Linked DNA regions of Homo sapiens: region 2 is linked to region 1. Evidence: promoter capture Hi-C in human tissues and cell types (Jung and others, 2019). All regions are on one chromosome and are shown on one strand. Each heading gives the region's core, a stretch centred on a gene start or on the middle of the fragment in contact. The rest is flanking DNA. Distances are from core to core; before and after follow the strand shown. Region 1 holds the start of RNF217 (ring finger protein 217). Region 2 overlaps RNF217 (ring finger protein 217).

What was found. Contacts are between HindIII fragments. The study calls those that stand out against the background at their distance.
Region 2: a contact is called between a fragment that was not itself captured here and the fragment with the promoter of RNF217 in region 1, in 2 of the 25 tissues and cell types used here (mesenchymal stem cells and mesendoderm cells).

The regions. Positions count from the first base shown.
Region 1 is chr6:124,958,948-124,964,862 of GRCh38, reverse strand. RNF217 (ring finger protein 217) reads right to left here and starts at 2,426. Exons shown (of 6, transcript NM_001286398.3): 1 at 1,437-2,426. The coding sequence starts at 2,318. It overlaps RNF217-AS1 (RNF217 antisense RNA 1), which reads left to right and starts at 1,836. Exons shown (of 7, transcript NR_026876.1): 1 at 1,836-2,040. The HindIII fragment of the contact is 7,226 bases long and covers 938-5,915 here.
Region 2 is chr6:125,021,675-125,027,589 of GRCh38, reverse strand. The region is part of intron 1 of RNF217 (ring finger protein 217); the gene reads right to left. Among named protein-coding and RNA genes, the nearest start is that of RNF217-AS1, 62 kb to the right of the region's middle. The HindIII fragment of the contact is 4,143 bases long and covers 387-4,529 here.

The sequences.
Region 1 (5,915 bases), core at 1,177-3,676:
CACAGTGACTTCCCTGGAGGCGGGCTTATATTTTGGAAATGTCTGAATCCCATCGCAGGGCAGCGAAATCTGTTTTGAGGATGATGATACAGAAACTACCACAACCAGCAGCAGACATTCCTCCTGTTTTAAGAATCTCTGTAGATAAAGCATGAAAGAAACAACAGTCTCTCAGAGGCTTTTAAATAATCCCAACTATTTTAGCCAACTTACTGTTTATGTAACATACCGTTTTAAGTCTTTGTTTGCATTTTTAGTTAGGGACTGTACACACTTTCAGTCTAGACCCAAGCATGAGTTAGCCAAAAAACATAGAGGAATCACATGGTACGGAGCCCTGTTCAGTTTGTCCCAGCCAATGTTATTAAAAACACTATGATGGGCAAGGGACTCAACATGAAGCTACCACATATGGGACTCTAAGACATTGTCCAGACAGTCTAACAAGACAAGCAGACACGAAAGAAACAACTTCAGTGCATGTAAGATAATATAAGATACTGTGAAAGTATATAAGCAGTGACTTGGAGGGTGAGGCAACGCTTCACAGAAGAGTTGGCACCTGAACACACAGGGTTTTGAAAGATGAATAGGCCTAGGACAATTGGACACAGGATCAAAGGGCATCCAGGATTGTGCAAAACACTGGCAGAAACATCACAGATTGAAAACTGCTGGAAGAACGCATTCACCGTCAGTGAAGGAAAGCTGGTCTGGTGCACTCTCAAGCTTTCCAAGAAAAAAAACCAAGTTTTCAAATAAAAGCAGAGGAGGAAAGTTTCACCAGTGCTTGTTCTGAGAAACCTCTTAGCCTCTCTTTGCTTTGTTTTGCTCTTTCTGTTTTGCTTCCCTCTTAAAGAGTGCTGGCTTAAAACCTCAGTGAAAGAAAAGTACTTCAACTTTACTGTGGAAAAAGGAAACTGAAAAGTAGGCAAAGGCCAAGGGATACATTTTTTTAAACATTCACTCTTTCCTGGAATATACAAATGAAGCAAAATTACAAATTCATGTATTATGGGTCTGAAATATTTATTCCAATTCTTTTCTCCACCAGCTCCATAAATATTTATTCTATGCCCACTGCTTGTTAGTTTCTGGGATACCAGGCCGATGAGGCAGTCTCTTCCTCTCCTCCTTTGAGCAAGCTTGTGCTTGCAATCCTGTATAAGAAATAAGAGGAGGGCAACAACTTGTATCTTGTGCCTTCTACACATGCCAACCATAGCCTGAAGTTCACAGCAAAGTTAAATTCCAGTTAAGTAAACCAGTGAGGTCATAATACACTTAAATAACAACTGAGACGTGAGAAACTAACAGAGATCCTCAGTAAGTGTGTCGGTCACCTCTTCGCGCGAGCAGGGAGATCAGATCGAGAGCAGGACCTCCTCGCCAGTGATTTGGAATGATAAATGGGGAAGAGAAGGGGGTGAAGTTACCTGGGCGCTCAGGTAGACTTTGAGGCACTCCTCGCACACGGCCTTCTTGCAGCAAGGCAGGGGCTTGATGGGCTTGTCTTCCAGGCACACCCGGCACATCAGCACCATGAGGGGCACATAGGGATCCCCTACACCGCCCAGGCCAGAGTAGGGTGGAGCTCCCAACAGGCTGGGCATGGAGAACGGCTCGGGCGCCAGGTAGAACTCCAGCTCGATGCTGCCGCCGTCGGGGGAGAGGGAATCCGTTGGGAGGGACAGTCGGGGGCTGGGGAAGGAAGAGCGGGTGCTGGGAGGGTTCAACACTGGCGGAGCCCCAGGTGGCGACGCGGGCGGCGAGAGCTGCTCCGAGGCGGGGGCCTCGGGCAGGTCGCTCTCCACGCAGTACACGGAGCAGAAGACTTGTCTCTTGGCGAGGGACGGGCGCCGCTGACCCAGCACGTCCAGGACCAGTCCGTCGGCGGCCCCCACGCGGGTCCTGGGCTCCAGCTCTTCGCCGGGGGGCGCCTCCTGCTGTTCATCCCCTCCCTCTTTTCGATCCCCAGCTTCCTCCTCTTCCTCCTCCAGCTCCAACTGCAGTGGCAAGGTCTGGGGATTGAGAGGCCCGGTGAGTGCCAGTCCCGCAGGCTGCGCCGGTGCTCGGCTCTTACTCCAGCCCGGGGGCCCCAGGCTCCTCGCGGGCTCTGGGGCGCTGGTGTCCGCGCAGCCCCAGTCGCTTCCGCAGCCACCGCCGCTCGGCTCCGCGGAGGCGGCGCGCAGCGGGGGCGCCCGGGCGCTGTCCCCCTGAGGCCTCGGGGGCTCAGGGTGGCCCGCAGTGCCACTGGCCAGGGTCTGCGACTCCTGGGGCCCGCCGCCGCCGCTCACCGTGCTCTGCTCCTCGCCCATCGCCGCCCGCGGCCCGCGCCGCCGCTGCCCATCCAGCCGCCGGGACCCCCACCCGGCGCCCGCGGGCAGCGGGGGCAGTGGCTCGGCTCGACTCGCGGCTCCGCTTCTGCTTCCGGGTCCTTCCTCCTGGGCTGGGACGCCCCAAGTCCCCTCCGGGGAGCCCGTGCTCCGAGGCTGCGGCGCGTGGGGAGCCTGGCCCGGCCCGCCGCTCCTCCTCGTACTCTGGCGCGGCGGGGCACCGCCTCGGGGGCGCCGAGGGCCGCTCGCTCTGGGCTCGGGCGCGCCCGCCCCACATGCAGCTCGGGGCGGCGCCGCAGCCCCAGCGAGCCCCAGGCGGGACAGAGGGGTCTGGGAGGAGACGGCCGTCAGTCCCGCGCCATCACCGGTCCCGGCTGCCGGACGCGCGGCCCGAGGGCGGTGGTCAAAGGGTCGAGGGGCCTGTGGCGCCGCCGCGGCGCGCACCAGGAGGTGCAGCCGGAGCGCTGGCCAGCCGCAGGGCCCCTGGGGGAGAGGCCGGAGCGGGCGACCTCCCTCTCCCCGCGCTTCACCTACAGCCCTCCTCGCCGCCCCTCACCCCACCCCTTTGGCGCACACCTCCCCACACGTACACACGCGCGCAGGCACCCGCGCACACACACACGCACACCCTGAGTGGGTGTGATCTAAGAGCTGAGATGCGCTTTCTCGCCCGGAGTTCACACTCAGCCTCAACAAAACCCTCAGAGCAGGCAGGCTCCCCTTTGGTCTCCGCATTCAGTAGAACTTCCTACAAAACTACACTCAGCTCTGGAATTAGTAAACGCTGGCTATTTAGGATGTCGAGTTCAGAGAAATAATGCTAAGGATTATGAATTCTAAATGCTGTATATTACAACTCTGTTTTTCTGCCTAGTGGAGTAGGAAGAATCTTCGAAACCCATAAATAATCGAAAAAGCACTTTCGATCTACTCCTCCAACTGGAATCCTTAGAAGAGTTGATAACTAATTTAAAATTTCTCTCTTTTTCTTCGCCTACAGTGTTCTCTTAGAAGTTTTTTTTTTTAACCCTTTTCAGCATTCCAAAATGGATAGCACAAGGTGGAAAAATGTCCTGACCTAATTAATAAACTGGATCATTAGTGGAAATCATGGGCAGTTTCATTAGCATAACCATATTTATCCTCAAAACTGTTTCCAAAACAACAATTATATGTGAGCCAGGACTTAATTATGTGTTGATCTATCTTTATTTTACAGGAAGTATTACTCACCCAGACACTGGTGTTTTAGTTCCCTAAAGCCAGTGAAAACATTTTTGGGAAGCCAGCCCTTGTTTTGTTTTTTTTCTCCTGAGAGGGAATTCAATTTACACATTCATGTAATAGCAAGGAACTGTAAAGTGTGTAGAATTTTATTTTTTAATCTCGAAGTTGTTATTGGGTTGTTCTAAAATATTTTCCAAATCAGATGCAAATGATACAAAGGTGACTAGCGATGCAAACTAAGAAAGCAGTGTAATGCCAAAGAACATTTCCATCATATATGTGTGTCTGAGGCTCAGTTGCAAGCAAAGGTATGAATTGGATGTCTAAATGCCATGTCATCTATCGGTCTGACCCAAGAATGGAAAATTCTTATTTTGAAGATTAAATGCTATTCGAGGATTCTTTTCTTTTTTATCTCAGCTAAGTGATTTCCTGGTAACTGCTGTTTTCTCCAAATGATACTTTAAGTGCTTATTGTTTTAAAGACAGAGACAAGAAACCTACTTATGTGTGCCTTTTGAGTGTGCCATCTGATGACCAAGCCACTATTCTTTCCAGAGATATAAAAGTAATCTGCATTTTCCAGGTGACAACAGGCTAAGACCAGAGTAACAATAATGGATGCCAAAAAGTATATTCCCACAGCGTCTATTGGAATAAAACCCCTCAAAGTCCTCTTATAGTTTTGGGAACCCCTCCTCACACACATTTTTCACTCGTATTCTGAGAACTTGTTCTTCCAGTGTTTACCATTTTATTCCTTATCCCTTAGGTTCCAGCTTACTGGAAGTGGCTGTCCTCTACACCAAACCCATTAGAAGTCCCTGCTGGGACTCATGATGGCCGCCCATATCTCTGCTGCTTAAAACTGCAGCCCTTTATTTTGCCATGACTTCTTCCCTACAGAATTCATTGGGCCTTTGTGAAAATAGAATAATATGTGGTTCCCTATTTCCACCCTCCAAATTGGCCCAAACTTGCCTGAATCCTTGACCCACCACCCCTGGCATTCAATCTAGTGCTCATGGGACTCCAGCAGCATGGAAGTGAATTAAATTGAAAAGTTAACATCGTGGTTCCACAATGAATTTTCTCTGAAGTGCATGAAGCACCAGTAATGATTGTTTCGATGGGATTAATTATTTAAAGAAGGATTGGTTGAAAATATTTTATTAACCAATATTTAATATTTTAGCAAAAATTCCATTTATCTGCCACAAGCTTAATATTCTCAAAACTCAAACCATCTGCTCCATCTCAGGTTGTACACAACTGTTGATACAACGTAAGTACTATCACTAATATCCTGCTCCTACCAACATAAAGCCTCAAAATGTCCTAATCTGCAGTGAACTGTGTACCTTCCCTAAAATCCAGACTTCAATATCAGAAAACTATGTCAGTTTTAGAATGCTGTTTTTTCTATTATTGCCTTTCTTATCCTGGCATTAAAACATGACTTCTTTTTGGCTCCCTTCAATTTTTTTAAATCATTTTTATTAATGCATAATATTTGAACATATTTGTGGGATATATGTGATATTTTGATATATGCATACCATGTGTGATGATCAAATAAAGGTACACAGGATATTCATCACCTTGAACAGTTATCATTTCTTTGTGTTGGAAACATTTCAAATATTCTCTTCTAGCTGTTTTAAAATATACAATATATAGCTATAGTCAGCCTACTGTGCTATTGAACACTAGAACTTAGTCCTTCTATCTAAGTATATGTTTGTATACATATAACCAACTTCTCTTCATCTGCCCCTGTGTTTCCAGCCTCTGGGAACTATCATTCTCCTTTCTACTTCCATGAGATCAACTTTTTAAACTCCCATATATCAAGAACATGTGATATTTGTCTTTCTGTGCCTGCCTTATTTCACTTAACATAATGATCTCTAGTGCCATCCATGTTGCTGTAAATGACAAAATTTCATTTTTTATGGCTAAATAGTATTTTATTGAATATACATACCATATTTTCTTTATCCATTCATCTGTTGATAGACACTTAGGTTGATTCCATATCAACCTCTTGTAAATAGTGCTATAATAAATATAGGGGTGCAGATGTCACTTTGATTTACTGATTTCCTTTCCTGCTACTGGATAAATACCCAGTAATGAGATTGCTGGATCATATGGTAGTTATATTTTTAGTTTTTTGAGAAACTTCCAGACTATTTTCTATAATGACTATACATATTTATGTTCCCATCAAGAGTGTATAAAATTTCCCTCTTCTATGCATCCTGGCCACCTTTTGTTATTTTTTGTCTTTTTGATAATAGTCATTCTAACTGTGGTAAGATGATGTCTCATTGTGGTTTTGATCTGCAT
Region 2 (5,915 bases), core at 1,209-3,708, 63 kb before region 1:
GCTAAGATTTCGAAGCAACCTAAGTGTCCATCAACAGACAAATGGTAAAGAAAATGTGGTACATATACACAATGGAGTACTATTCAGCCATAAAAAAGAATGACATCCTGTCACTTGCAACAATATGGAGGAAATTGCAGATTATTCTGTTAGGTGAAATAAGCCAGGCAAAGAAAGACAAACATTGCATGTTCTCACTTATTTCTGGGATCTAAAAATCACATCAATTGAACTCACGGACATAGAGAGTAGAAGGATGGTTACTAGAGGCTGGGAAGGGTAGTTGGGCATTGGCGGGGAGGTAGGGATGGTTAATGGGTACAAAAAAGCCCAGGAAGAATGAATAAGACCTACTATTTGATAGCACAATAGGATCACTACAGTCAATAATAACTTAATTGTGTATTTTAAAATAACTTAATGTAATTGGATTTTTTGTAACTCAAAGGATAAATACTTGAGGGGATGGATACCTCATTCTCCATGATGTGCTTATCTCACACTGCATGCTTACATCAAAACAGCTCATATATTCCATAAATATATACACCTACTATGTACCCACAAAAATGTTAAAAAATAGTTTAAAAAATTTAAAAAAGAATGGTACAAATTATGTCATGTTCATTCAACAAATATAATAAACATTAATATATTAATATTAATATTTACTGTATCCAAAACACAATTACTCTTTGCATGTGAAAATAATACTACTCTATAACTAGTATATCACAGTTCATTTTAATTTGTTTTCATTTTTTTCATCCAGTAAGGGAGATGATTTGGGCAGATTTCACACCCCACTTGTCTTCCACAGGGTCAAGAGTCACACAGGGAAGCAGTGCAATTCTTGCAGAGTTTAAGGACTGAATATGCAACCTTCCCTACCTAAAAAAAGCTGACTTGTATAGCACCTAACTGTGATTCCCTTTTTTTTTTCTCAGAGAAATGTTTTAAATACTTGTTTCAAAGTTATCTTCCCCAAAACAGGAATACCTTTTGTCATTCTTTCTACACAGAAATGTGGAGTACTGATGACACGTTTACGCTCTCAATGCTCTAAAGGCTTGAATTGTATCATCCTAGAAATTTATCCTATTATCACAATAAACTTAATGATAATGATGACGATGATGATGATAGCAGCAGCTAACATTTGTTGAGCGTTTAGTATGTGCCAGGCACTATTCTAAGCATTTTCCATTGATTAACCTCAGTTACTCCTGATAAAGACCCTACCAGGATCCCAAGTACAGAATTAGTTTGCCCAAGGTCACCCAGAAAGAAAGTACTAAAGCTTTAATTCAATGTTAGTCACTGGCAGAGCCTGGACACATTGCCACTGTGTCACTGCAGATGTCTACCCAGGTTTTGCAAAACTGGCTGCTTAGAATAATAATGCCATGTTGCTAGCGGCCACTGAGAATTCTTAAGTACTTCATCAAAGGCAGGTAATACATTTTTGGATGTGATACTTTGAAAAGTACAAGCAGTCTAACTTTCATCTCCCTCAGTGCTGTGGACAAGCAGATGGTCTCCACGATCATATGGGCTATCATCACTGAGCAGCAACCTTCTCTGGGACCCTCTGGGGTGCTTCTTTCTTACCCATGAACCATTTCACCTCCCTCTTCAAGGCCTTACTCTTAACTTTTCCTTTCAACTGACCAATATGCACACAGTCAAAAACTTCACCTTGTACTTGACAGAATAAAAATCCAACAGGATCAGCTGAGAACACCTTCAACTTTCTGTTCCCCACTCATAAGAGAGTACATTTGTAAATATCCCTTCCTTCCTTCCTTCCTTCCCTCCCTCCCTCCCTCCCTCCTTCCCTTCCTCCCTCCCTAGAACACCTTCAACTTTCTGTTCCCCACTCATAAGGGAGTACATTTGGAAATATCCCTCCCTTCTTTCCTCACTCCCTCCCTTCCTTAGAACACCTTCAACTTTCTGTTCCCCACTCATAAGGGAGTACATTTGGAAATATCCCTCCCTCCCTCCCTCCCTTCCTTCTTTTCTTCCTTCCTTCCTTCCTTCCTTTGGAAATATCCCTTCCTCCCTCCCTCCTCGGTAGAAAGCAGGACTTTGCAAAATTTCTAGGATGATTATTTCCACCTGCCTTGTCAGGAATCTCACCTCCCTCTGCTAACTTCAGACACTCAAACTGATAAGCATGCTCAAGTTTCTCCCACTATAAAAGCAAAAGAAAACAAAAAACTCGTTAGGATTGTGTGCCTTGGTCTCCAGTCCTTATCATCTGTCCATTTGCAGCCAAGCCAAATGAAAGATTATTTAATGTTCTTGTGTTCACGTCCACATTAAAAAACCCACTGCTATCTGTCTCACCTCCTCCTTGAAATGACTTTCAGTCATTCTCTACAAAATTATCAATCACCTTCTGGTTACTAAATGTCCATTTGAATCCTTACTTTACTGCCTCCTTTGCAACATCTGACACTGTTGAGTTCTGTTTCTTTCTTGACCTCTAGCACATCACATTCCTGATTTTCCTGACTTCTTTCTGTCCCCTGTATCCTCCTTTGTGGATTTTCCCTGCATCTATCCTTTAAGGCTTCCTGAGTCTCTGAGGTTGCATTTATAATGGATTGTTCTCATTGGTTAATCTTTCTGAGGGTTAGTTACTCTTCCACTCCCATGGTTTCAACTCCACATATATATACAGTGCAAGCTCCCACATGTTAAAACACCAGTCCAGATCTCTATACTAAGCTTCTGATATCTACGTTTAATTCCCTACTTGATGTCTTCAGTCAAATACCTCAAACTCAACAGTCTAAAAACAAACTCATCACTTCCCATGTCCCCCTGACTGCCCACTTTCATTTTTTTTTTTTTTTTTTTTTGAGACAGAGTCTTACCCTGTCACCCAGGCTGGAGTGCAGTGGCATGATCTTGGCTCACTGCGACCTCTGCCTCCCGGGCTCAAGAGATTCTCTCGTGCCTCAGCCTCCCGAGTAGCTGGGATTACAGGCATGCACCGCTATGTCTGGCTAATTTTTGGTATTTTAGTGGAGACAGGATTTTACTGTGTTGCTCAGGGTGGTCTCGAACTCCTGAGCTCAGGTGATCCGCCTGCCTCAGCCTCCCAAAGTGCTGGGATTACAGGCGTGCACCACCATGCCTGGCTAATTTTTGGTATTTTAGTGGAGATGGGATTTTACCGTGTTGCTCAGGGTGGTCTCGAACTCCTGAGCTCAGGTGATCCGCCTGCCTCAGCCTCCCAAAGTGCTGGGATTACAGGCGTGAGCCACCGTGCCTGGCCTCCTTCATGTTCCTTATCATGAAAATGGCACAGAAAGCAAAGTAATATCCCCTCCCGACTTTTCTTCTGCTTCCTCTCTCCCTCAACCATCAACAAAATCCTACTTTATTAATTCTTCAAACAATCATTTACATCTTTTGATCTCCAATGCTACTTAGTCCAGGCTTTGGAGTACTCTTTGTTTCATTTTGTTTACCTCACATATTTATTTATTTGCAGTGAAAGTACTTAAAATCTACTCTCTTGGCAATTTTCAAGTATACAATGCATTGTTACTAACTATAGTCACCATACTGTACAATAGGTTGCTTGAACTTATTCCTCCTAACAGAAATTTTGCATGTCTTGAACAACATCTCCTTAGTCCTTTTCCCCCCATGCCCATCCCCTGGTAACCAACATTCTGCTTTCTGCTTCTATGAGTTTGACTTTTTAAGATTCCATATATAAAGGGGGACCATGTGGCATTTGTCTTTCTGTGCCTGGTCTATCCTACTCAACGTAATGTCCTCCAGGTTCATCCATATTGCTGCAAATGACAGTATTTCCTTCTTTCTAAAGACTGATTAACATCCCATTGTTAAATATACTAGATATTCTTTATCCACTCATCTATCAATGGGCACTTAGGTGGTTTCCATATCTTGGCTATTGTGAACAGGGCACAATGAGCATGGGAGTACAGATATCTCTTCAACATACTAATTTCATTTCCTTGAGATATAGATGCAATAGTGAGATTCTGGATCATCTGGCAGTTCTATTTTAAGTTTTTTGAGGATCCTCCATACTGTCTTCTGTAATGGCTGTACTACTTTACATTCCCACCAACAGTATACAAGGGTGCCCTCTTCTCTGGAGCACTCTTTTTACAACACAAGTCTGATCATACAACTCCACTAATTAAAATACTTCAATAATGCCCTTGTGTTCAGGATAAAGTGAAAACTCCCTCCATGTGAAAATGTGACCACTTTTCTGGACTCCCTTTTGCCCCATTGCAGGCTATGCCTCAATCATATTTGATTTTGCCTCTGGGCTCCTCCGCATGCTTTTGTTCTACCCAGGACATACTTTACACATATTTTTCTTGCTTAAATCCTTCAGGTCTTACCTCAGACATCAAATTCTTTTGGAAGCCTTTTGTAATACCTCAAAACTGTATCAGGTGATCCTTAACAAGACTTGCTCCTGTAGCAACCTGTGCTTATTCCTGTCATTTTTACTTATCCTATTCTAGCAAAATTGTTTGTTTTCCCTATTATCCTATAAATTCTTTGAGGGCAGAAACTGTGCCTTGTTTATTCTGGCATCTCTAATACCTTGCTCACTAACCTGACATAAAGTAGGTGCTTAAGAAATAATTGTTGAAATTCAAAAAGAGGTTAATAGAGATAGTGTGAGGTTTTTCTAAATAGTGATCTCTAGCTACAGAAAACTCAAGGTCAAGCAGGGACATAGGTGACAAAGGAGAGCACCAGACCACTAGTCCAAGGGACATAAATTAAAGGGAAGGAAGTGTGATTGTGTATGTTTGTTTTGTCTAGCGTGTAATGTGTAATTGTAAGTAGAAAAATCAGCATCCTGTTCTGGACTATTTTAAGGGGTTCATGGGGTAGGGAGAGATGACAGCCAAATTGGCCTTGATCACTGGTTTATAAGAAGATAAAAATGTTCAGTCTTAACTACCAGGGCAGAGGCCACATGTAGGCCAGAAGCCCAGCCTCCCTTAAAGGAACAACCACACCCCTGGCTGGTTGCAGTTCAGCTGTTGCACTCAATGTGCTAATTGAAAGAAAAAGGGCAGAGATGTAGAGAAGGAAAACCTTTCTGGCCCTGTCAGCCTGCTCATCCTTCCTAGTCCAACTTCCCCAGAGTTTCCTAGGCTGCTCAGGTGAAAGAACATTAATTGTTACTTATTTTTGTTAATGTGTTAATTTTCAAAACTGTTACTGCCTATAATTTCACTGAATTCGTACTGTATATAATGGAGCTATATAAATTTTACATAACTGTTGAATAATCTCTTCATGTTTTGAGGGAGAATAGAAATGTATTTTCTCCTATAAACCAAATAGATCTGCTGTGGGCCTCACTTGTTAGAACCAGTAAGAAAACAGGCCAGGCATGGTGGTGCAGGCCTGTAATCCCAGCACTTTGGGAGGCCAAGGTAGGTGGTCACCTAAGGTAAGGAGTTCGAGAGCAGCCTGGCCAACATGGTGAAACCCCATCTCTACTAAAAATAACACAAATTAGCCAGGTGTGGTGGTGCATGCTTGTGATCCCAGCTACTTGGGAGGCTGAGGCAGGAGAATGGCTTGAACCTGGGAGGCAGAAGTTGCAGTGAGCTGAGATCATGCCAGTGCACTCCAGCCTGGGTGACAGAGTGAGACTCCATCTCAAAAAAAGGGGGGAAGGCATGGGAAAGTGTTTAATGACAATCCTGGGAATGGCTGTTCTTACTTATTGAAGAGCACAATGTCTGATCTTCCTAGTCAATTTTTCAGTTATACAGGGAAAGTAAGGTCACCTGTGTTTGTACAGCTGATAAATGACTTTATAAAGGAAACTGGGAAAACAGAAAAATGGGGAAAAAATCAGGCTTTGTCTTACCATCCTAATACTA